7 separate regions of the Homo sapiens genome follow, and regions 2, 3, 4, 5, 6 and 7 are each linked to region 1. Evidence: promoter capture Hi-C in 16 types of primary human blood cells and fetal thymus (Javierre and others, 2016). All regions are on one chromosome and are shown on one strand. The core of a region is centred on a gene start or on the middle of the fragment in contact, and the rest is flanking DNA. Distances in the headings are between cores, read along the strand shown.

What was found. The method cuts DNA at HindIII sites, captures the fragments that hold promoters and counts their contacts. A CHiCAGO score of 5 or more calls a contact.
Region 2: a contact is called between a fragment that was not itself captured here and the fragment with the promoter of CFAP276 in region 1, in 1 of 17 cell types (naive CD4 T cells). The highest score is 5.0, in naive CD4 T cells.
Region 3: a contact is called between the fragment with the promoter of PRPF38B here and the fragment with the promoter of CFAP276 in region 1, in 3 of 17 cell types (naive CD4 T cells, total CD8 T cells and naive CD8 T cells). The highest score is 6.5, in naive CD4 T cells.
Region 4: the fragment with the promoter of AMIGO1 here is called in contact with the fragment with the promoter of CFAP276 in region 1 in 1 of 17 cell types (M2 macrophages); the score reaches 5.3 in M2 macrophages.
Region 5: a contact is called between a fragment that was not itself captured here and the fragment with the promoter of CFAP276 in region 1, in 1 of 17 cell types (M2 macrophages). The highest score is 5.5, in M2 macrophages.
Region 6: a fragment that was not itself captured here is called in contact with the fragment with the promoter of CFAP276 in region 1 in 3 of 17 cell types (naive CD4 T cells, erythroblasts and non-activated CD4 T cells); the score reaches 6.3 in naive CD4 T cells.
Region 7: a fragment that was not itself captured here is called in contact with the fragment with the promoter of CFAP276 in region 1 in 1 of 17 cell types (endothelial precursors); the score reaches 6.4 in endothelial precursors.

Annotation. Positions count from the first base shown.
Region 1 is chr1:109,111,351-109,114,188 of GRCh38, forward strand. It overlaps CFAP276 (cilia and flagella associated protein 276), which reads right to left and starts at 1,397. Exons shown (of 5, transcript NM_001245025.3): 1 at 1,249-1,397. The coding sequence starts at 1,329. ELAPOR1 (endosome-lysosome associated apoptosis and autophagy regulator 1) reads left to right here and starts at 2,765. Exons shown (of 22, transcript NM_020775.5): 1 at 2,765-2,838. The coding sequence starts at 2,834. RefSeq lists a silencer at 2,517-2,586. The HindIII fragment of the contact is 3,574 bases long and covers 460-2,838 here.
Region 2 is chr1:108,644,913-108,647,750 of GRCh38, forward strand. No RefSeq gene overlaps it. Among named protein-coding and RNA genes, the nearest start is that of HENMT1, 15 kb to the right of the region's middle. The HindIII fragment of the contact is 1,576 bases long and covers 548-2,123 here.
Region 3 is chr1:108,690,906-108,693,743 of GRCh38, forward strand. It overlaps PRPF38B (pre-mRNA processing factor 38B), which reads left to right and starts at 1,405. Exons shown (of 6, transcript NM_018061.4): 1 at 1,405-1,962. The coding sequence starts at 1,687. RefSeq lists enhancers at 1,057-1,246, 1,184-1,744, 1,327-1,656, 2,307-2,838. The HindIII fragment of the contact is 12,264 bases long and covers 1-2,838 here.
Region 4 is chr1:109,508,235-109,511,072 of GRCh38, forward strand. It overlaps AMIGO1 (adhesion molecule with Ig like domain 1), which reads right to left and starts at 1,493. Exons shown (of 2, transcript NM_020703.4): 1 at 1,186-1,493; 2 at 1-765. The coding sequence starts at 678. LOC105378893 (a long non-coding RNA gene) reads right to left here. Exons shown (of 3, transcript XR_001738179.2): 3 at 2,368-2,407. RefSeq lists silencers at 1,097-1,156, 1,167-1,316, 1,377-1,496. The HindIII fragment of the contact is 14,739 bases long and covers 1-2,838 here.
Region 5 is chr1:109,488,736-109,491,573 of GRCh38, forward strand. It overlaps ATXN7L2 (ataxin 7 like 2), which reads left to right. Exons shown (of 11, transcript NM_001350175.2): 7 at 112-365; 8 at 1,195-1,393; 9 at 1,536-1,657; 10 at 2,187-2,838. Among named protein-coding and RNA genes, the nearest start is that of CYB561D1, 3.9 kb to the right of the region's middle. RefSeq lists a silencer at 2,122-2,171. The HindIII fragment of the contact is 4,525 bases long and covers 1-2,838 here.
Region 6 is chr1:108,750,902-108,753,739 of GRCh38, forward strand. It overlaps STXBP3 (syntaxin binding protein 3), which reads left to right. Exons shown (of 19, transcript NM_007269.4): 2 at 1,356-1,405; 3 at 2,162-2,243. Among named protein-coding and RNA genes, the nearest start is that of STXBP3, 5.6 kb to the left of the region's middle. The HindIII fragment of the contact is 1,618 bases long and covers 572-2,189 here.
Region 7 is chr1:109,472,702-109,475,539 of GRCh38, forward strand. The region is part of intron 2 of SYPL2 (synaptophysin like 2); the gene reads left to right. Among named protein-coding and RNA genes, the nearest start is that of SYPL2, 7.6 kb to the left of the region's middle. The HindIII fragment of the contact is 4,024 bases long and covers 1-2,838 here.

The DNA.
Region 1 (2,838 bases), core at 147-2,646:
TCCCAGCTACTTGGGAGGCTGAGGTGGGAGAATTGCTTGAGCCCAGGAGTTCGAGGCTGCAGTAAGCCAAGATTGCACCAGTGCACTCCAGCTGGGGTGACAGAGCAAGGAGACCCTGTCTCAAAAAAAAAAAAATATCCCACAATGATTCCTCACATCCCTAGGATGAAACCATAGCTAGCTAGCATGGTGTACACAGCACACCCAGCCAACCAAGGGCATCTCTCCAGCTCTGATTTCTGAGTGCTTCCATTGCACGCCTACACTCCAGCCCTTCTAGACTATTTGCAGTTCCCCAAATAAGCCATTCTCTCTCTCCTTTCCATGTATTTGCACCTGCTGCTTCCTTTGCCTTGCATATCTGGTTCCTGTTTCCTTCTTCCTAACTCACATTCTATCCACTCCCTCACCTGGCCTACCTAACTCATATTTGGACATCAAAATGCATCTGCTCTGTGAAGCTTTCCTTTAAGTTCCTGGTTCTCACGGCACCCTGCACACAACTCTGTCACAACATGTGCTATTGTGCAAGCATTTTTGCTATTGTCGGTCTCTCTTTACTACTAGAGTTCCTTGACAGCAGAAGCTACATCTAATTTATTTATATATCCTTGGCGTTTAGCAGAGTGTCTGGCTTATAGTAAATAAGTATTGAATAAATAAAAAGGGGCTCTCAATATTGTTATTAGACCACAATCACCACTTAATTCATCTTATTGTGCACCACTTCATATATCCCAATCACTTCTACCAGAAAAAAGATCATCTAAGTTCCGAAATCAGTGTCCACCATCATGCTAAACACACACATAACAAACATATTGTGGTGTTAACCAGAAGACAGAGACAGTGTGAACACAGATGTGTAAAGCATGACCTCTGGTGGCTTTCAGAGGATTCTCTCCCACTCCATATCTCATTTCTCTTCAGAGAACAGTCTTCCAAATAGGGAAATGGGTAGCTTGAAGGAACCTGGGCACTGCCATAACTTATACTCACAATTGATTTGAGCTGCCAGAGCCCCTTGTTCCTCTAGACTAGAACTCTACTTTCCTCTGCTCAAAAACGCCTCTGAAACGTTAGCCGACTTGAATATGGAGATAGGGAGGCAGGCAGAAAACAGACTTCCCTGGTACCCGACTGAGTGTCTTCACCAGAGTCCTTTATGTTACCATCTCTGCTCATCACACAGACAGAAAGAAGACTACCGGCGACCCTACTGGGAATCTGCGCAAGAAACCACAGTACCTTGGAAGCCCGCAGTTCTCCTAAGTAGGAATCATCGTTATCTAATGTAGGCTGCTGGAAAGGGTCCCGGGTGGGAGGCATGGCTAAATGCCTAACTCTTTTAAGAGGGATGGGAGGCCCGCTCAGCCGCAGCACAGCCTCACTGGCATAAGATCCCGGGTCCCAATTGTTTGGAGCGCTGGTTTCGGTTGCCAGGCAACTGCCCAGCCATCTATGACAGAGGAATTCCCTCAGAGGAGGGCGCCACCTGGCGGCTGACCACGGGAGGCCCCTGGGGAGGAAGCTCCGGGGACTGCAGAGGGAACGTTCCGCTGAGCGGGCCCGAGACTTGGAATTGCACTCCTGAGCCTCGGCGGAAAAGTGCTGGCTGCTCACCATCAGGACTTCTGCAAAAGACTTCAGTTGAGGAAAGAAGTCCTGAAAGATGACCCAGAAATTTCCTTCTCCCTCGCACCTAACAAAAGGCTTTCAAAGCCATGAGAGAATGAGGATGTCAAGAGACCAAAGAGGGCCGGGCGCGGTGGTTCACGCCTGTAATCTCAGCACTTTGGGAAGCGGAGGCGGGCGGATCGCTTAAGCCCAAGAGTTCGAGACCAGTCTGGGCAACATGGCGAAACCCCGTCTCTACAAAAAGTAGGAAAAAAATTAGCTGGGCTTGGTGGCACGCGCCCGTAGTCCCAGCTACTCGGGAGGCTAATCCAGGAGAATCTCTTGAACCCGGAAGGCGGAGGTTGCAGTTAGCCGAGATCGCGCCACTGCACTCCAGTGTGGGCGAGAGAGTGAGACCCTGTCTCAGAGAGAGAGAGAGAGAGAGAGAAAGAGAGAGAGAGAGAGAGAGAGAGAGAGAGAGAGAGAGAGAGAGAGAGAGAGGCCCACGTGCGGCGCTTGGGAAATTGCGGCTAAGGCAAACTCCTCGCTTAAACTCGGATCAACTACAGTGTCAGGGCTTCTCTTCTAGCCGGTTGTAAAAGCACGGATGGATTTGGCGGGATGTAAGATCTCCAGGAGTGGCCTTCGTAGGAGGGAACACGTACTGGGGCCTCTTCCAGGCGACGACGTCTGGAGGGTGATCTCTCCATCTTCTTTCTCTCGGTTCACACGCCACGTGTGCAACATCGGAGATGCTCATAAAATAACCCCTGGCCCGAAAGGGCAGTAGAAAACGGAAATTTGTTGGCTGGCTTGGAGGATGCTTCCACTGTGTTCTTCACACGAGCCCCGGGCCTGCCTGTTGGGCCGGTTGCGCACCCCGGGCGCGCGCTCTCCCGCGCCCACGCCGCGCGCACCAGCGGCGGCGGCTGCCATGGCGACCCGCAGGTGAGCTGCAGAGGCGCGCGTGGTCCCTGCCCCACCCGCGCGGAGCCAGAGAGGAGGCGGTTGTCAAGGCGACGTGGGTAGGAGGAGAGGACAGAGGGAGGAGGAAGGATGGGCGGTGTTGGCGTAGCCGCAGGGAGGTGACTGAAGCGAGCCTGGCCTCTTGCATCCTCCGCCTGTGTACCTCCCTCCCCTTTTTTTCCGCCTTCTGCCAGCAGAAGCAGCAGCCGCAGCACCTGAGCCGCTACTGCCGCTCACTCAGGACAACGCTATGGC
Region 2 (2,838 bases), core at 86-2,585, 470 kb before region 1:
GAGACCTGTCTCAAATGTTCGAGGTTCACAAATATAATGATAAGCCATGTTTGCTGTAGTTAGCACCTAGCATCCTTCATGAAGGCAGAAACCCACAGTTCTCAGTCTTCAAAAGACCACATTGCCACTGCTGACACTGCTCAGTCCCTGACTTCCTGTCAACTGCTCGACACACAGTCTCCACAGGACCAGGCATAACGAGATAAAGATTTAATGTTCTTGGCACCCAAACTCTAGTTGAAGAAATTGCCTTTATTTGGAGTTCTCCCTTGATAACCGCTGGCAGAACTGAGGGCTGAGAACACTTGAAGGGAGCTGAACTGCTGGGCGTGCCGTGGGGCAGCAGGTTGGCAGTCACAGGAAAGGAGGGGAGGGGGTGGGGCAAGCGAGGGCAGCTGGGGAAGGTGAGCTGGGAGCTGCTGCCAGATGAGAAGGAGGGTAAGGTGGGATGTGTTTGAGGAGCCTCGGAGCAGCATAGAAGGGGCTGAGATTCACATCTCAGTTGTATGGAACTGAACTTGAAGGCAGGCAGTGCTGTGATAACGTAAGCTTTTAGGAAATCATAGAAGTCTCAGAGTTTTGGAGTTACCCAGACTATGGAAATAGGAGTTGGAGGCAAATTATATTCAGATCTCAAGGGCCAGGGAGGTTTCAATACCTGGTAGTGCAGATTTCGTATCTAGTCTGGGAGGTGGGCAGTGGCAGTGAGAACCTTCTCTCAAAGAAGACTGCAGATTAAACTCTGTCTCCTGCTCAGCGCACTTGTTTTCACATTGTCTGTGGTGGCTTTGACTCAAGCAGAGTTGAATAGTTGTGATAGAGACTGGATCACCTGCAAAGATTTACTGTCTAGCCCCAAAAGCACGTCTGGCAACCCCTGACCTCAAGTATTAATGAGCCTTTCAGTGTGCAAAGAAAGGCCTGTATCCAGGTTGGGGGAAAGACAAACTTCTCAAGAAGAACGTAGGTACAGAAGCCGCAGAGAGAGCGGGAAGGCCATGGGGAAGAGCAGCTCCAGCCCCCATGGCAGTCATGAGCACTTAAAATGTTTCCACATGGGGGCTCCAGTGATTAGGCTCGAACAAAGTTAACTGATTAACTTTCAAGAAAGATCAGAGAAACGGCTGGTCTTGGCTAGAAACCTTGGCTCTACCACAGAAGAGCAATGATGAGAAGGGAACTCTAGAGTGAAAACTGCAGAGGCCTAGAAAGGTGAGGACGGACAGAGGGCCTTTGAGAGCAGGAATAGGGTGGGGCTACAAATCTCTTGTTCATGTGCACCTTTGAGCATTCATGGGGGAAGTCTGATAGCAGTATTAGAAATTCAAGGAAAAAACAGCTGGTTTACCAATGTAATGTGATTAAAAGACGGTTCTCATCAGAATCCCTCAATTCTCTCCCCCCTCACCAAATCCCCTTCCCATCTGCTTAATTATTAACCCTTGGAAACTCAGCTTGAGAATTACTCCCCCCAGCCCTCTCCCAGGCACCAACTCTGCATCTCCATAGCCCCCATTCCAGACCGCTCAGGATGTCCTAGCTGTGGCACAGATGGTTATTTGCCAGTGTTCCTTCTCCCCTTGTTCCTTGGCAGACCAAGTGGACACATGACCTCCCAGAATAAAAACTGTATTTCGCAGCTGATACGGTTTGGATCTGTGTCCCCATTCAAATCTCATGTCAAACTGTAATCCCTGATATTGAAGGAGGGGCCTGCTGGGAAGTGATCATGGGGGTGGGTCCTTTGTGAATGGTTTCGCACCATCCCCTTAGTGCTGTTCTCGTGACAGAGTCCGCCCAAGACCTGCTTAAACGTGTTCAGCACCACCCCTCGCTCCGCCTTGCTCCTGTTCCCACCATGTGAGATGCCTCGCCCCGCCCCAACCCTTTGCCTTCTGCCATTACTGGAAGTTTCCTGAGGCCTCCCCAGAAGCAGAAGCTGCTATGCTTCCTGTACACTCTGTGGAACCATGAGCCAATAAACCTCTTTATTACCCAGTCTCTGCTATTTCTTTACAGCAATGCAAGAACAGACTAATATATCAGCTTCCCTTTGTGTGGCCTGAAGACCACATTCTGATCAACAGGAAGTAAGCAGTCGTGTTGCGTAACAACCCACAGCAAGCTTTACCAGACAGCTTGTGTGTGCCCTTTGTCCCTTCTCTTCTTTCTGCTGTTTCAGAATATGAAAGTAGTAGCCAGAGCTCAAATCTCTCTCTCTGTCCCTGGATGGCATACTAAGTAGCCACAACATGCAAGATGGACGTCTGGGTCCCAAAAGTGGCAGAGCTCCCATGCCTGGGGCTTACCTCTGGACTCCTGTGCCTAAGAAATGCCTCTCATTTAAACTACTGTTTTCCCCCATGAGGTGAAGCTATGTTTCTTTCTCCCATTAGTACTACCACCCCAATTCCAACCAGAGAAGTACTACCACCCCAATTCCATCCTCAGAAGAGGGTGCTCAAAAAACAATCCCAGCACTTTGGGAAGCTGAGGCAGGAGGACCACTTGAGCCCAGAAGTTCAAGACCAGTCTGGGCAACATAGTGAGACCCTATCTCTACAAATTTTTAATTAGCTGGGCATGGTGGTACATGCCAGTAGTTCAAGCTACTGGTGGGGAGGAGGTGAGGTGGGAGGATTATTTTAGCCCAGAGGCTGAGGCTACAATGAGCCATGATTGTGCCACTGCACTCCAGCCTGGGTAACAGAACAAGACCCTGTCTCAAAAAAACAACAACAACAACAACAAAACATGGACAGCAATTACATCATGAAGAGGCTTCTATGCCCTCCAACCACCTGCATTCCTGTTTTATTGATGTTCTAGGCTAAATAT
Region 3 (2,838 bases), core at 155-2,654, 420 kb before region 1:
AATAACATCTTCAGCCTGTTGTAGGGATTCACTGAATATGTTAAAGCACTTTATCATAATACCTGGCTCCGAGTTTGATGCCGCTGACACTTAGATATCAAACTCAACCTCTCTACCAAGCTCTTCATCCAAACAGACTAGGGGTAAAGACTGTCTAAGACTATACAGAAAGATCATGTATCTGAGGAATTAAAAATAGGGCATAAGATTTGGCAATGTGTCACTCGGCAAACTCAATAAACTAGTATTATCAAGGCAAAAAATATATACACAAAAAGAACTGGGTTAAAAAAAATTTTTTCTATGGACTTTTAACGTGATAACTCATGACACAGGGGTTAGGATCTTCAGTTTTCCTTTGGAAGTTAATAAAAACCACTATAGAGAAAAACAAGATTTGCTAGTAAGAAGGTGAAAACTGCTTCTCCTCTCAGGGTTCTAGTTCTCTTGCAACCTAAAACAAAGGAACCAGACAGGATATCCACTTTCGTACCGTACAGCTCCAAACACTAATCAATCACTCCATTCACTTATCTTTTCTATTTCCTTGTATTCTGTCAAACAACTGTCTCTTGGTTTAAATACTTTTCTGCTGGTCTTCGCTCTCTCTCTCTCCTCTTCTGGTTTATTTTCATCCAGATGTGGATTTTCCCCAAAGTTTCCATCTTATCCTTTTCTCCTCCTGTGTATGCGCCACTGAAGTCAAGATTGCCACATTCAAACTCCCCACACATTCACACACCCACTCCCAATATACAGTATCTCGCCCAATGTTTATCACTCCGGATACATTCCTAGAATCCAAAGATCTGGAGCAGGGAGAAAAAGAAAAGGCGCCTACCAGATGCCTGGAACAGTCTACTAGGCACTACAAGTACATTAGCTCTTTCAATGCTCACAACAGCCCAGCCAGATGTTATCTCAATCTTACGGATGAATAAATTTAAGACTTCTGGCTGGACACTAGAGGCTGGCGAAGTACGTGACCTTTGATCAGAATCTCCTGGAGGAGTGGGGTCCCTGACCATTGTACCTTCCAGAGAACCTTAAAACTGAGATCCCAGGAGACCCCTCTCGGATACTCTGCAGAAGTCAGAGTGACGATATTAGCAAGCACACCGCAGCCATGCGAACCCTTCCTGGCTCAGCTCCCGACAAAAGAAATCAAGCCCCCAGTCAAAATACAACAACAACGGATTAGGCCTACAACCCTCTCCCCCGGCCCCCAAATTCTCAGGAGAAATCCCCTAAGAGTCAGGTACGGAGGTCACTGCAGCGACTTCAGCGTGCAGAGAACGCGGGGACCTAGGAAGAGGACGCTCCAGCCCAACTGAGCGTCTCTGATTGGCCGCCAGCTCAGCTTGGAACGCTGGGGTGCGTGGCGTCATATCCGCCGGGCCCGCCATCTTGTTCCCAGGGGCAGTTGGCGGAAGAGATCGAGCTCCCTGGCTGCCGGCTCGCCTTCTGCGTGGAGTTCTCGCGGTCTGGGTTTCGCTGTCTGCTCTTGGCCCGGGGTCATTTTGTCGGCGTCGGGTGCCCTCTCTTGCCCAGCTGGGGCACAGCGAGGCGGCCCCTTCTCCCGACGACGTTCGATGGAGTAGGGTCCCAGACCGTTGTCCCGAAGAGCGAGATCGAGCTTGGCCCCCTCCCCCCCCTCCTTCCCTCCCTCCTTCCTTCCGCCGCAACATGGCTAACAACAGCCCCGCGCTGACAGGCAACTCGCAGCCGCAGCACCAGGCGGCTGCAGCTGCGGCTCAGCAACAGCAGCAGTGCGGCGGCGGCGGCGCTACCAAGCCGGCGGTCTCCGGCAAGCAGGGCAATGTGCTCCCGCTCTGGGGCAACGAGAAGACCATGAACCTCAACCCCATGATCCTGACCAACATCCTGTCGTCGCCTTACTTCAAAGTACAGCTCTACGAGCTCAAGACCTACCACGAGGTGGTGGACGAGATCTACTTTAAGGTACGAAGTGTGTAGGCCTTGGCTTTGGGGGTAAGTTCGGAAGAGGGGGTATGGAGGAAACGGGCGAAGGCGGCCCCCGAAATCTGAAGATTTGTGGGTGGGGGAAGGTGGTTCGGCGGAGGGGTGGCTGCGGCCTGTAGTGTGTCTGGGAGGGGTCGGACTGGGGCCGCCCTCTCGTTTCCATTTTAGATTTTTAGGGCCGGGAGAGCCCGCCACTATTGATCTCTCTCCTCCCCCAACCTCCTGCCCACCCCTGGGGGGAGTTGGGCAAGAGGGATGGGGGAGAGGAGGAAAGAGTAACAGAAGCCTTTCCAGTTTACAGCTTTAAAATTATTCCTTTTGACGTGGATCTGCTGAGCGCCAACTTGTTGGTGCTTCTCCCGCTCACCCCTGGCCAGGGCGTGTAATGACTTCAGTATTGGCCTCGTGTTGTTGGTACTCACTATCCGATCCAGGCAGGGAAATGGTCAGTGCGTGTGTGTCGGGTGGGGTGGGGGGATGAGGGTGGAGAGGTGCCATTTCAAGAGGTGTACAGAAGGCCTGGAAATTTTCCCAGCAGGAAGTCAGGAGTAAGAGGTCTCAGCCACCTGTGCATTGGGCTAATTTAGAATTATCTGGGCCCTGGGCTTCTGCGGCAGGGTCGGTGCTGGCTTGGCTGTGCTGGGGAGCTCACCTGGCGCCTCCTCACTGCACTCTTGTCTCAGTTCTTGTTTCGTTAGCAGGATTGACTCAGTCTTGCAGCGAGGCTCGGAGCAGCCCAGGGTCGCAGGTAGAGGTATGCACTATTAATCATGCTCAATCGCCATAAATGCATTTCCCTGGTTAAATGAACGACTAATTAGATTTTTGTGGGTTTTTTTGGCCATTGCTTTTGGT
Region 4 (2,838 bases), core at 243-2,742, 400 kb after region 1:
GTCGCAGTTCAGGGGGTTGTTATGTAGGTACAGCCCATTCTTGATCCAGGCCGGCAGCTTCTGCAGGTCAGGCAATGGCAAGTTCTTCAGCTTGTTAGAAGAGAGATCCAGGAGCGTTAGTTTGGGTAGCTTGGCTCCTTCCTTGACCAGTTCCAGAGGGAAGCGAGAGATCTGGTTCTGGCTCAAGTAGAGTTTCTGCAGCTGGGCCATGTCATCGAAGGCGCACCGGTCCACCGCCATGATGTGGTTATTGTAGAGCAGCAGCACCTCCAGTACTTGCAGGTCACTGAACAGGAACTCATCCAGTGTACGCAGCTGGTTGGAGGAGAGGTCCAGGTAGCGCAGGTTGGGTACCGGGGAAAAGGCCTCAGAGGAGATGAAGTTCAGGTGGTTGTGGCTCAGCAGCAGGGAGTGCAGTTGGGTCAGGCGCGTGGGGGTCCACTCGGCCCGCAGGCGGCTCAGGTTGTTGTGACTGAGGTCCAGTAGTGCTGTGTAACTGGGCAAGGAATGGGGCACATTGGGCAGCTGCTGCTTGGAGCAGCTGAGGATGTTGCTGGCGCACAAGCAGGCGGCAGGACAGCTAACCACGGCTCGGCCAGCTCTGGCCACCTCAAAAAGCAGCAGGGACAAGGACGGCAGCAGGAGCCAGAGGCCTCTCGGGTCACGGTGGGGGTGCATAGTGTCACTGGAGTGGGCGAGGAAGGCCACAAGGAAGATCTGGGAGGAGGTCACCCGGGCATGTTCTGGTGGGGTACGGAAGGGTCACTTGAGAGAAAGAGGATGGGTTTGTGGTCACCAAGGACTCCAGAGGGAAGGACACCCTCTCCCACTTCCCCTCCCACCCTTACCTCCACCCCCTTTGGGCTAGGAGAGAGAGATGCTGGGTAGTTTCCAGGCACTGTGCAGGCAGTGGGCTGTAAATATCGGCCGAAGAGGAGGTGGCCCGAGGGCCTACTGGGCTGGGGTCACAGGGGTGCAGGCTGCAGGTATGCACAGGATGGCAGGGACTGCTGGGAGTCACAGGGATGGCACGGGCAGGGTTTGGAGGTGGGGTCGGTGTGCCTTTTGGGAGGAGCTGAGGGAAGGTCAACAGGGCACCGGGCTGGGTAGGACGCGTCCGGTCGGGGTTGAGGGTCCCCGGGGCCTGTAGGGGCGGGCTCCCCCCGGGGCCTCCGGTCACTGCACCTGCTCGGCGAGGACGTGTCTCAGCCCATGGCCGGTCTGGGAGCTCCGTCGCGGCCTCTCCCGGCGGCGCCTCACCGGCCGGCCTGTCACTGCGCCCACCTTACGCAGGGGCCCGCGCCCGGCACCGTCGCCTCCCGGGGACTTGCGGGGCCCCGCTCCGCTCACCCTGCCACCGCCTCGACCGCTGAGCCCGCCGGAGCCCACCGACCGCGGTCGCTGCCTCCAGGTCCGCAGGCCTGGCGCGGATCGGTGCGGGGAGCCGGAGGCGCAGCGATCCCAGCGGAGGGAGCGGCGTGGGGGCAGCGAGCACCGCGCGCGCGCCCGTCGCCGCCGCCGGAGCCTCGGGGCGCGTGCGCGCGGCGGGGGCGGGGCGCACGTGCGTGTGTTTGTGTCGGAGCCGGCCGGGCGGACGCGCGCGGGGTCGTTCCCTCAACCAGCGAGCTCCGGACGCTGAGCTAAAGACGAAAATTGGCAGGAAGAGCGGCACTGGCCCCTTAGGCTCCGCTATAACTTCCTCCATCCCCCATTCCCCCATCTCCCAGCACCCTTCTCGCTACACAGACCGGCTCTCAGGAAAAGTCTAACTAAAGTGAATTCGCTGCACCTACTCGGGCAAGAGGCGTCACATGTCTTTTAATTTCGCAAATTGAAGAAATCTGGCTCAGCTCCCGCCTGCCAATGTTGGCGGGAAATTCATTAGTCACATTCTGAGGTTCCCCCTCCCTTCTCTCTGTGGCTGTGGGGTCTCAAAAATTGGGGGAGGGGTTCCCCCCACCCCACCCCCGTCTTGATGCTACTAGTTCATGACCCTTGAGGTACCACTGAAGGGCACAGCTCCTTAGCCTGCAAGCCAGCTGCGCAGGAGTGAGGGGAAAGGGGGTGTTTGGTGAGCCCAGGCCCCAGAACACCCCTTTACAGACACCTCATGCACCTCTCCCCACTCCACCTGCTACACACACACACACACACACACACACACACACACACACACACACGGACTGCATACAAGCCAGGGACAATTTCCATTCCTGGAAACTCCGAAACCCTTCCCAGCCCGGAGGAAGTCATTCAGCCCTTAGGTCTGGCCACTTGCCTTCTTCCTAAACCAGTGCCAGCTCCCCACTCCCCTTATGGAGCAATTGCAACATAGTTTCTCTGTTACCTAATCCTCAAGATGAAGGCCAGTGGTGGAGGTGGAGGGGTTTCTTCTTTAGGGTGGCCCCTGAAACAACAAGAAGCTGTTACTAGTGTATGTTGTTTGGGTTTGGGGGTGAGGAAAGAGAGAGATGCAGGAAGAGCCTAGACCTTATCATTCAAGATGTTAGCTGTTCTTGAGATGGTGGACCATAAGAAATTACCTTTTTATTTGTTCCAGTCTCTTATAACAGCAAGATCAAGACTGAAATTAATGTCTCAGTAGATTAGCTTGCTAAGAGTTTTAAAAAGAATTTATATCTGTCACATGTTTTACCATGAATTTTAGTGAATATATTATCTCTTCAAGGAGTATTAGCGTGTTAATCTTATGCATAGTGTGAAAAGGTCTTTCTGCAAGGTGCAGTGGCTCACACCTGTAATCCCAGCACTTTGGGAGGCTGCGGCAGGAGGATTGCTTGAACCCAGGAGTTCGAGAGCAGCCTGGGCAACATGGTG
Region 5 (2,838 bases), core at 245-2,744, 380 kb after region 1:
TGCCCACCTCTCTCCCTGCCCCCCAACTTGCCCGGGCCAAAGCACCCTGCCGTCCCTCACCCCTTCTCAGTTCATACCTACTCCCCAGCTCTCCACTCTGCTGTATTCTAGATCCACTCAGTACACCAGCGCCGGGAAGTCCAGGGCCGGGCCAAGGACTTTGACGTGCTGGTGGCAGAGCTGAAGGCCAACTCCCGCAAAGGGGAGTCTCCCAAGGAGAAGAGCCCAGGGCGCAAGGAGCAAGTTCTCGAGCGCCCCTCCCAGGAGCTCCCCTCCTCAGTCCAGGTTGTAGCAGCGGTGGCTGCTCCCAGCAGCACCTTCTCTGTTCGTGCCAAGCAGACCTACCCATACTGTGCACTGCCCAGGTACGTCTAGAATCCAACCCCTACCTCACCTGGGGGTACTTGGCCCCTAAGCCATCAGGGGCCCCTGGAAACAGGCTCAGGGAGTGTCCTGGAAGAGGCACTCCCTCAGCCCTGAGTGTGGGGGTATTCCTGGGGCTCCTGACAGTGGTGTGGAAGCAGGAGACTCCCCTGTTTCCAACCAGGCATACCACAGCACCCCAGCCTCTCGGCAGTGTGCCAGATCCAACACTCAGGATATGAACATTTTCCCAGCTGCCTCCAACAGACCGAAACTTGTCACTGGGGAGCTGAAAGGGTCACACTCCTGGGCAAGGCAGCCCTATGTGTATTCACTCACTGGCCCCTTCGCGTGCAGAGGCTATGCCGGACCCCAGGGAGAGCCTGACTTGCTGAAGGAGACACACATGCATCTCTGCCTGTCACACAAGGGGCAGACACGAAACACAGGCTCAGCTCACAGACAGGCTCACAGGAATATGTGATGCAAGAAGGGGGTTGAGCGAGTTGACTGGGCTGACCAGAGCTGGGTACAGTTTTAACTGTGAAGATTTTCTGGAGGAGGCGGATCTGCAGCAGATTATCCCCTGAGGAGGAAGGGGCTGGGAGGTGAAGGGGCTGGGGAGAGAATCCCTTGGGAGCAGTCTCTCTGTCTCTTACTCTGTGAGCTGTGTCGTTCCCTCCTGTCCTTCCCTTCCCTCTGTCCTCTTCTGATTGCCCTGCAGGGTGTCTGCCCTGGTGCCCTGCTCTTTGAGCTCGGCAGGTTCAAGGATGCCCCTACTCTGACCCCACAACAGTCACATTCCCCTGGCATCCCTTTTGGCCCTTCCAGGTCCCGGGCCTCCTCCGAGAGTGAATTGGATGATGAAGGCCCCTGTGGTGGTGATGGGGACCCAGGCCTGTTCCCCTTCCCCATGCCCCGGGGTGGGACCCAGGCCTCCAGCGAAGAGAGTGAGGAGGAGGGGACATCTGACGACCTCCACCCACCCCCTGACTGCCATTATGCAACCCGGCCCCCACGGCCACAGGCGGTAAGGACCTGGAATAGGGGCCTATGGAGGGGGTGGCCCAGCACTCCTGGCCAACAACATGGGGAGGAGGCCAGATCCTGTGTGCAGATGCTGTCTGTGCACCCCAGACCCTGCCAACCATGCACCTTCCTTCTGCCTTTAGTTCTGCACCTTTGGGAGCCGGCTGGTGAGCCCAGGATGCTATGTGTTTAGCCGCCGGCTGGACCGGTTCTGCTCAGCACTCAGCTCCATGCTGGAACGGCACCTCAGCACACACATGTGGAAGTAAGTCTCTCGGACCCAGAATGGAAGTTCTAGAATGGAAATTCCTAGGTTCCAGACATACTTGGGCTTCAGAAGCCCTGATCTTTCCTGTATACCCATAGGTGTGCCTTGGCTATTTGCCAGCAGGACCCCAGATAGGGAGTAGCATGAAAAGGAGGTGGGAAAACTTGGCAGCCTAGAGTTTGGCTAAGGCAGGGCATGGAAGGGTGGTCTGGGGGTGAATCTAGACTTTCATCCATCACTTCCAGTACCTTTTGGGTAACTAGGGATAGGGGATGCCCAAACCAAGATTTAAAATGAAGTTCCTAGTGGGCTGCCTCCTAGTTAGTAGGTACTAGCTAATTCCTCTCCACAGGCACCCCTGTGTCTTCTTCCTAACCCTCAGTTCCAGCATCTCCCAGCAGATGGCAGCAACTCTGGGGCTCTGCTGACCATTTCTAGGTGGGGCAGAGAGACTGGAGTGTGTCTTGTGTTGGGGGAAGCTGTCTTGTTTCTTGGCAGTCACAGTGGGGCTTTCTTTTTGCTGCAGGAAGATCCCACCGGCAGCTGAACCTCCAGCTCACCTTGTCAACTCCCCGTTATCTGCTCCCCTGAGCCCATCCTCTACAGGCACCTGCCCCCGCCTTCCAGGTCCAACCCTGAGACCTGCCTGCCCAGCCTCCATGCCCCCCACCAAGGACAACCTTGTCCCCAGCTACCCTGCAGGCTCCCCCAGCGTGGCGGCTGCCTGTAGCCAGGCAGAGTGCATGGGCGGGAGCCAGGCTATCACCTCACCACTGCCTGCCAACACGCCATCCCCGTCCTTCAGCAAGCTGCCGCCTTCCAAGGCCAGCAAGTCATCCAAAGGCAAGGACGGGGTGGAGGTGGAGGCCCCTTCTCGAAAGCGGAAGTTATCCCCTGGCCCTACCACTCTTAAACGGACCTGCATCCTGGAGCCCACTGGAAAAGGGAAACCCTCTGGCTGTAGGGGCCTCTCGGCCAAAACTAAAACAGCCCTGAGCATGGGGCTTAATGGGACAATGGGGCCAAGAGTGAAGCGGGCAGGGCCCCTGGACTGTCGTGGCTCCCCTCATCAGCTCCCCACACCAGTCAAGGCTTCTCAGCTGGAGAACCGGGGAGCAGCTGGACACCCAGCCAAGGCCCTGCCAACCAACTGCCTCTCTGAGGAGGAGGTGGCCAAG
Region 6 (2,838 bases), core at 131-2,630, 360 kb before region 1:
TACAAATGAACAGCCAGGTTGGAGAGGTACATAGGGTAAGGTCAAAAAAGGTCCTAAGCATAGGTGCTTCTATCCACATGGAGTTGGGTGTCTCACCCTCCTGGCACATGGTTTGTTCACCACCTTGGGAGCTCTCCAAACTCTCTTAAGGGGTTTTTATGGAGGCTTCATTATATAAGCATGAATGATTACATCACTGGTGATTGAACTCAATCTCCAGTCCCTCTTCTTTCCCAGAGGTCCTGGGGTGGGGCTGAAAGTTCCAACCCTCTAAACATGGCTTGGTCTGGTGACCAGCCCTCAATCTAAAGCTGTATAGGGGCCCCTCACCCAAGAGTCATTTCATTTGCAGACGGAAGAGATGCTATCACTCAGGAGATTCCAAGGTCTTTAGGGGCTCTGTGCTAGGAACAGGGGGTAAAAACCAAATATTTTTTATTGTACCACAGTAACTGTTATTATTTATACCCTCTGATAGAAGAGCCGTCAGTTTTTAACATGACTTGTTACCAAAAACTTGTTGATAAATTTCCCAAAAGCATTAACTTAAATATAAATTAGGAAATAGAAAAGCTTAAGTTAATGAAATAACCATCTCATTAATAAGATTTAATGAAAAATAGGTTACTATAATTTATATTTTAATTATATTTTATGTATTACTATGTATTACTACCGATTTTAAAATCAATTGAACATTAATAAAACATAGTGTGGGAAATTGTTTTATTAAGTAGAACAGATATTTGTATAAATTGTCCACATGAATTATTTAATACATAATGGAAAATGTTTTTAAATCAGTGAACTAATTTTTAAAACATATTTAGATAATTTTGAAAGTCATTGTAAGGAACATATTTATTGATTATAAATCAAGACTGAATATTGGTATCCAAATGCTGTGATATGTATTGTTGAAAAGCATAATGTAGTAAATCAGTATGAAAAATGTTTATGCAGATTTGATCATCAGATATAATTTAGCAATGGGCAACTTAAGGATGTTCCCGTGGGTTTTTTGTTTTCATCTTGTTTTACTTGGGATTTAAGTAGAATAGGAAAAACCAAATCAGGTAATAATTTTAGAAATATTTTCTCGGTACGTTCATGTACTTAAATATATTAACCCTTTTTATAATACCTTTTAAAGTTAAAAAATTGATTACAGTTTAAATGTACTGTATAGGCTAGGTATTAGAATTGGATTTTTCCGTAAGGTTTAACAAATATGTATGCTTTTTATGTAGTTTAACAAATTTCAAATTGGATTTTTCCTTAGCCATTTTGGACCCTTTGGATTACTATGTTTCTGTTTATTTAATTCCTAAGTAATTCCTTTCTTTTTTAAACAGAGATAAAAGCAACAGTGTTTGATGACTGCAAGAAAGAAGGCGAATGGAAGGTAGAGTTTGCATACCTTGCTCTTATAAAAAATAATACAAACTTTAAAAACAATACAGTATAAAAACTACATAGTATTTACATGGTATTAGGTATTCTAGTATAAGTAATCTAAAGATAATTTGACGTATGTGGGAGGATGTGTGTAGGTTACATGCAAACACTACACTATTTTATATAAGAGATTTGAGCATCCATGGATTTTTGGTATACACAGGGGTCCTCGAACCCCCATGGATACCGAGGGATGACTATATAGGGTCTGGAATCACACTGCTTGGCTCCAAATACTAACTTCACCACTTAATAGCTGTGGCTCCTTGCACAAGTTACTTGACCTCTCTCTGCCCCATTTCCTTGTTTATAAAAATGGTGATGGTAATACCTCATATGGTAATTGTAAATATGAGGTGAATTAATCCATGGAAATTACTTAAAACAGTGCTTTGTGCAATAATTGTTCTACAAGTGGCAATTGTAATTTTAAGAAAATTTGATGTTAAACAGTGTCATTCAAAATGAATAAGCTCTATGTTTCAAATTAGAAATATTTCTGTTTGTTTACTTATGTACGATACTATATGCATGTATATTGAGAAAATCTCTAGCTCATGCAAGATAAAAGATGAGATCATTTTGCCTACTGTTCTGATATTTTGTGTTATAAAAGGCTTATAAAGTTTAATGGATAAAATTCTTTTTTTCATTCTTGGTAATAGGATGCTTACAGTATTTTTAAATTTGTGTTTGTTTTAAGATAATGCTTTTAGATGAATTTACCACTAAGCTTTTGGCATCGTGTTGCAAAATGACAGATCTTCTAGAAGAAGGTATTACTGGTAAGTGTTATTCTTGGCATGAACACTTTTTAATTGTAATTGGGGGAGATCTGAGGTATTAAATTTTAGTTAGTAGTTGTGTTTCTAAGGAGCTTATTTTTTTAAATTACTGTAGCCATAACTATTAGATTTAACATTCTTTTCTCTGAATCTTCTGTCAGTTTTTTTCCCTCAGCCGAGACATATAATTAAGACCTCTAACCAAGCCTAACTTAATTGCTTTGTTGAGGTTGTTCTTTAAATGTTTTACTCATATATACATATATATATATAAAACAATTTTGTATATTGATACACAAGCTTTACTTCAGTATTTTGATTTAGTTTATGGTTTCATATATCGCTTTAAAATGGATATCAAGATTTATGTCATAAAATCAGCTGTTGTACATGTTTACAAATGCATAATGCTGACTTCGTAAATTTATCTTTATTACCAGAAATGAGACAAATAATTATAAGTTTAAATCAGTTTTAGTATGAAAATTTGAAATACTTACAGATTCTGAAAAAAAATCATAATGTCATAAGAAGTTATCTTCCTCTAGGCGGGATTATGTTATTGAGATATTAATCTGTATTACCTATTGAGGAA
Region 7 (2,838 bases), core at 114-2,613, 360 kb after region 1:
CCTGGGCTCAAGTGATTCCTCCCCATCAGCCTCCTGAGTAACTGGGACTATTAGCAGGCACCACCATGCCCAGCTAATTTTTTGTTTGTAGTTTCTGTAGGGGAGGGTCTTGCTATGTTGCCTATATGTTGCTAGTCTCAAATTCCTGGGCTCAAGCCATTCTCCTGCTTGGCCTCCCAAACTGCTGGGATTACAGCTGTGAGCCACCATGCCCGGCCCCTGCTTTCTTAAGGAACCTATAAGGAGCCATTCACTGACTAACTGCCAACGGGTAAAAATATTTCCAACTGTGCTGCCCTTCCCAGAATGTGACACCCTAATCACATCCAGTTCTGGGCACCAGAAGCTAAGAGGAATAAAGAAACTTCTAAGAGGAATCAGATGGCCACAGAACTGACAAAAGATTAGCGAATTCCTATGAGGAAGAGTTAGAGAAGTTCCACTATTACAATGGTGAGGCCACTTTGAGTAAGTAAAGGGTAATGATGCAGAGGCTTCGAGTGACTCTTCTCTACCTCTGTGAAGAAGGCGGGCAGACAGGGCTCTACTGCAGTCTTCATCATTTAATTCAGGAGAGGAGGGTATTTAGGCATTGGAGGGAGGTTTTACTGTCTTCTTTCCCAGATATCTTTAAACATGGAGACAATTCTCATTTGTCTGGAATAAACCTCCTGAAAACAGAGAGGTGCCCATTATTTGGAGAGAGGCCAATGGCTCCAGCATGGAGATCTGCAAGGCCAGGCGCTGCAAGCCGGGGGCAGTGGCACTGGACACCTCGCAGGGGCAAAGCACAGCTGTTGGCAAGCCCAGTCAAGAGTACACTGACAGTGTTACTCTCAGAGAGTGAGAGAGTTCCAGGGCTGGAAAGGGCCTCTAGATTATCTACTCCAAACCCCTCCATTTAAGATGAGGAAACAGGCTGGGCTCATGCCTATAATCCCAGCACTTTGGGAGGTTGAGGCGGGCGGATCACAAGGTCAGGAGACCGAGACCATCCTGGCTAACACGGTGAAAACCCGTCTCTACTAAAAAAAATACAAAAAATTAGCTGGGCATGGTGGTGGGCGCCTATAGTCCCAGCTACTCAACAGGCTGAGGCAGGAGAATGGTGTGAACGCAGGAGGTGCAGCTTGCAGTGAGCCAAGATTGCGCCACTACACTCCAGCCTGGGCGACAGAGCAAGACTCCATCTAAAAAAAAAAAAAAAGATGAGGAAACAGACTCAGAGAGCAGAGTGACTTATCAGAGCTCACCTGGCTAATTAGTGACAGGACCAGGTCTGGAACCTAGGTTTCCATACTCCTAGTTCAGGTCTCCTTTCACTCCATAATGCTAACAAGCATTGGCAAAATAAAGTGCATATAGCTTCTATTCTAGACTCTGGATGCAGGGCTGACATACAGATCAGCTGTCTTCCAAGTGCTTAATGTCCAAGACACTGAGTCTCGAAGAAAGATACAGAGAGTGAACAATTAAGAGAATAAGCTCATTGCTTAATAAGAACATGACATTGTGTACAAGTCAAAGGTAAGTGCACAGGAAATCCAATCTGAGCAGATGATGTGGAGGATAAGACATTTCAATTTCTCACCTCCTTTTCTTTTTTCTTTTCTTTTCTTTTCTTTTTTTTTTTTTTTTTGGCGGTGGGCGGGAGAGGGACAAGGTCTCATTCTGTTGCCAGGCTGGAGTGCAGTGGCACGATCTCGGCTCACTGCAACCTCCGCCTCCCGGGTTCAAGTGATTCTCCTGCCTCAGCCTCCCAAGTAGCTGAGATTACAGGCATGCGACACTCTACCGCCAGGCTGATTTTTGTATTTTTAGTAGATATGGGGTTTCACCATGTTGGCCAGGTTGGTCTCAAACTCCTGACCTCAAATGATCCACCCGCCTCAGCCTCCCAAAGTGCTGGGATTACAGGTGTGAGCCACCGCACCTGGCCTCTCACCTCCTTTTCTAACCAAAGTGTGTTTCCCAGAAAGAAATCTGAAAATCATAGGATGAGGAAATTTTATTTCACTTGAGAGAGAAGGTGTAGTAAAATGTGAGGAAAGGTGGAGAAGAAAACAATTCGAGTGACCTGAGACACCTCTGGATCTTAACACTGAGAAATGGCAGCATCAACAGATGACAAAGGGAAATACCAGTGGGGAAACAGTGGAGACTGATAAGGCAAGTGGAGGGTACTTTTCTCTGGGCTTGAGCCAAGATTGTCACATTGGCCCAGCCAGCACTATTGCTAGAAGGCCATGTGCCTTTTGGGGAAGAGGAATTAGGCTGTCAGTACTATGGGACAGTAGTATGGCCCATCTGGGGTGGCTTGGTAGAAGCTGGCCCCTCCAGCTATACCTCCACCAAGGCAGGAAGCCACTGGAAGTTAGCAACTAGGAAACAAGATTAGATGACTAGTTCAAAGGAGAAATGAAAAGCGTTCTAGGCATGTCTGATCTAGGTTGATGCAGGGGAATCTTTTTGAGTGTGTCTCTCCCTTGGGAAGGAAATTCAAGTCTATCTGTAAGCTAGAAGTTTCCTAAAGCCTGAATTGCAGAGGTTTTGTGTTAGTCATCTTAAGGAGGCTACCTGTGGTCCCCAAGTCATGCCCAATGGAGAGATCTGGCAACTGTCCATTTCCTGCCTCTTCATCTCCCTTGCAGACACCACTCAGTCAACCTTGTATTCATTTGGCTATTTGGTCCAGCAGCCTGAGGCTGGAAGATAAATGGAAGCCATGGGTTTCTACCTAGGAAGAACTTGATTAAAGGGGATCCTCACTCTCCCCCACTCCCGCACTTAATGTCTGCACCTGCGGGGAGTCACGGTTAGTTCTCGACTTTGGCCAGT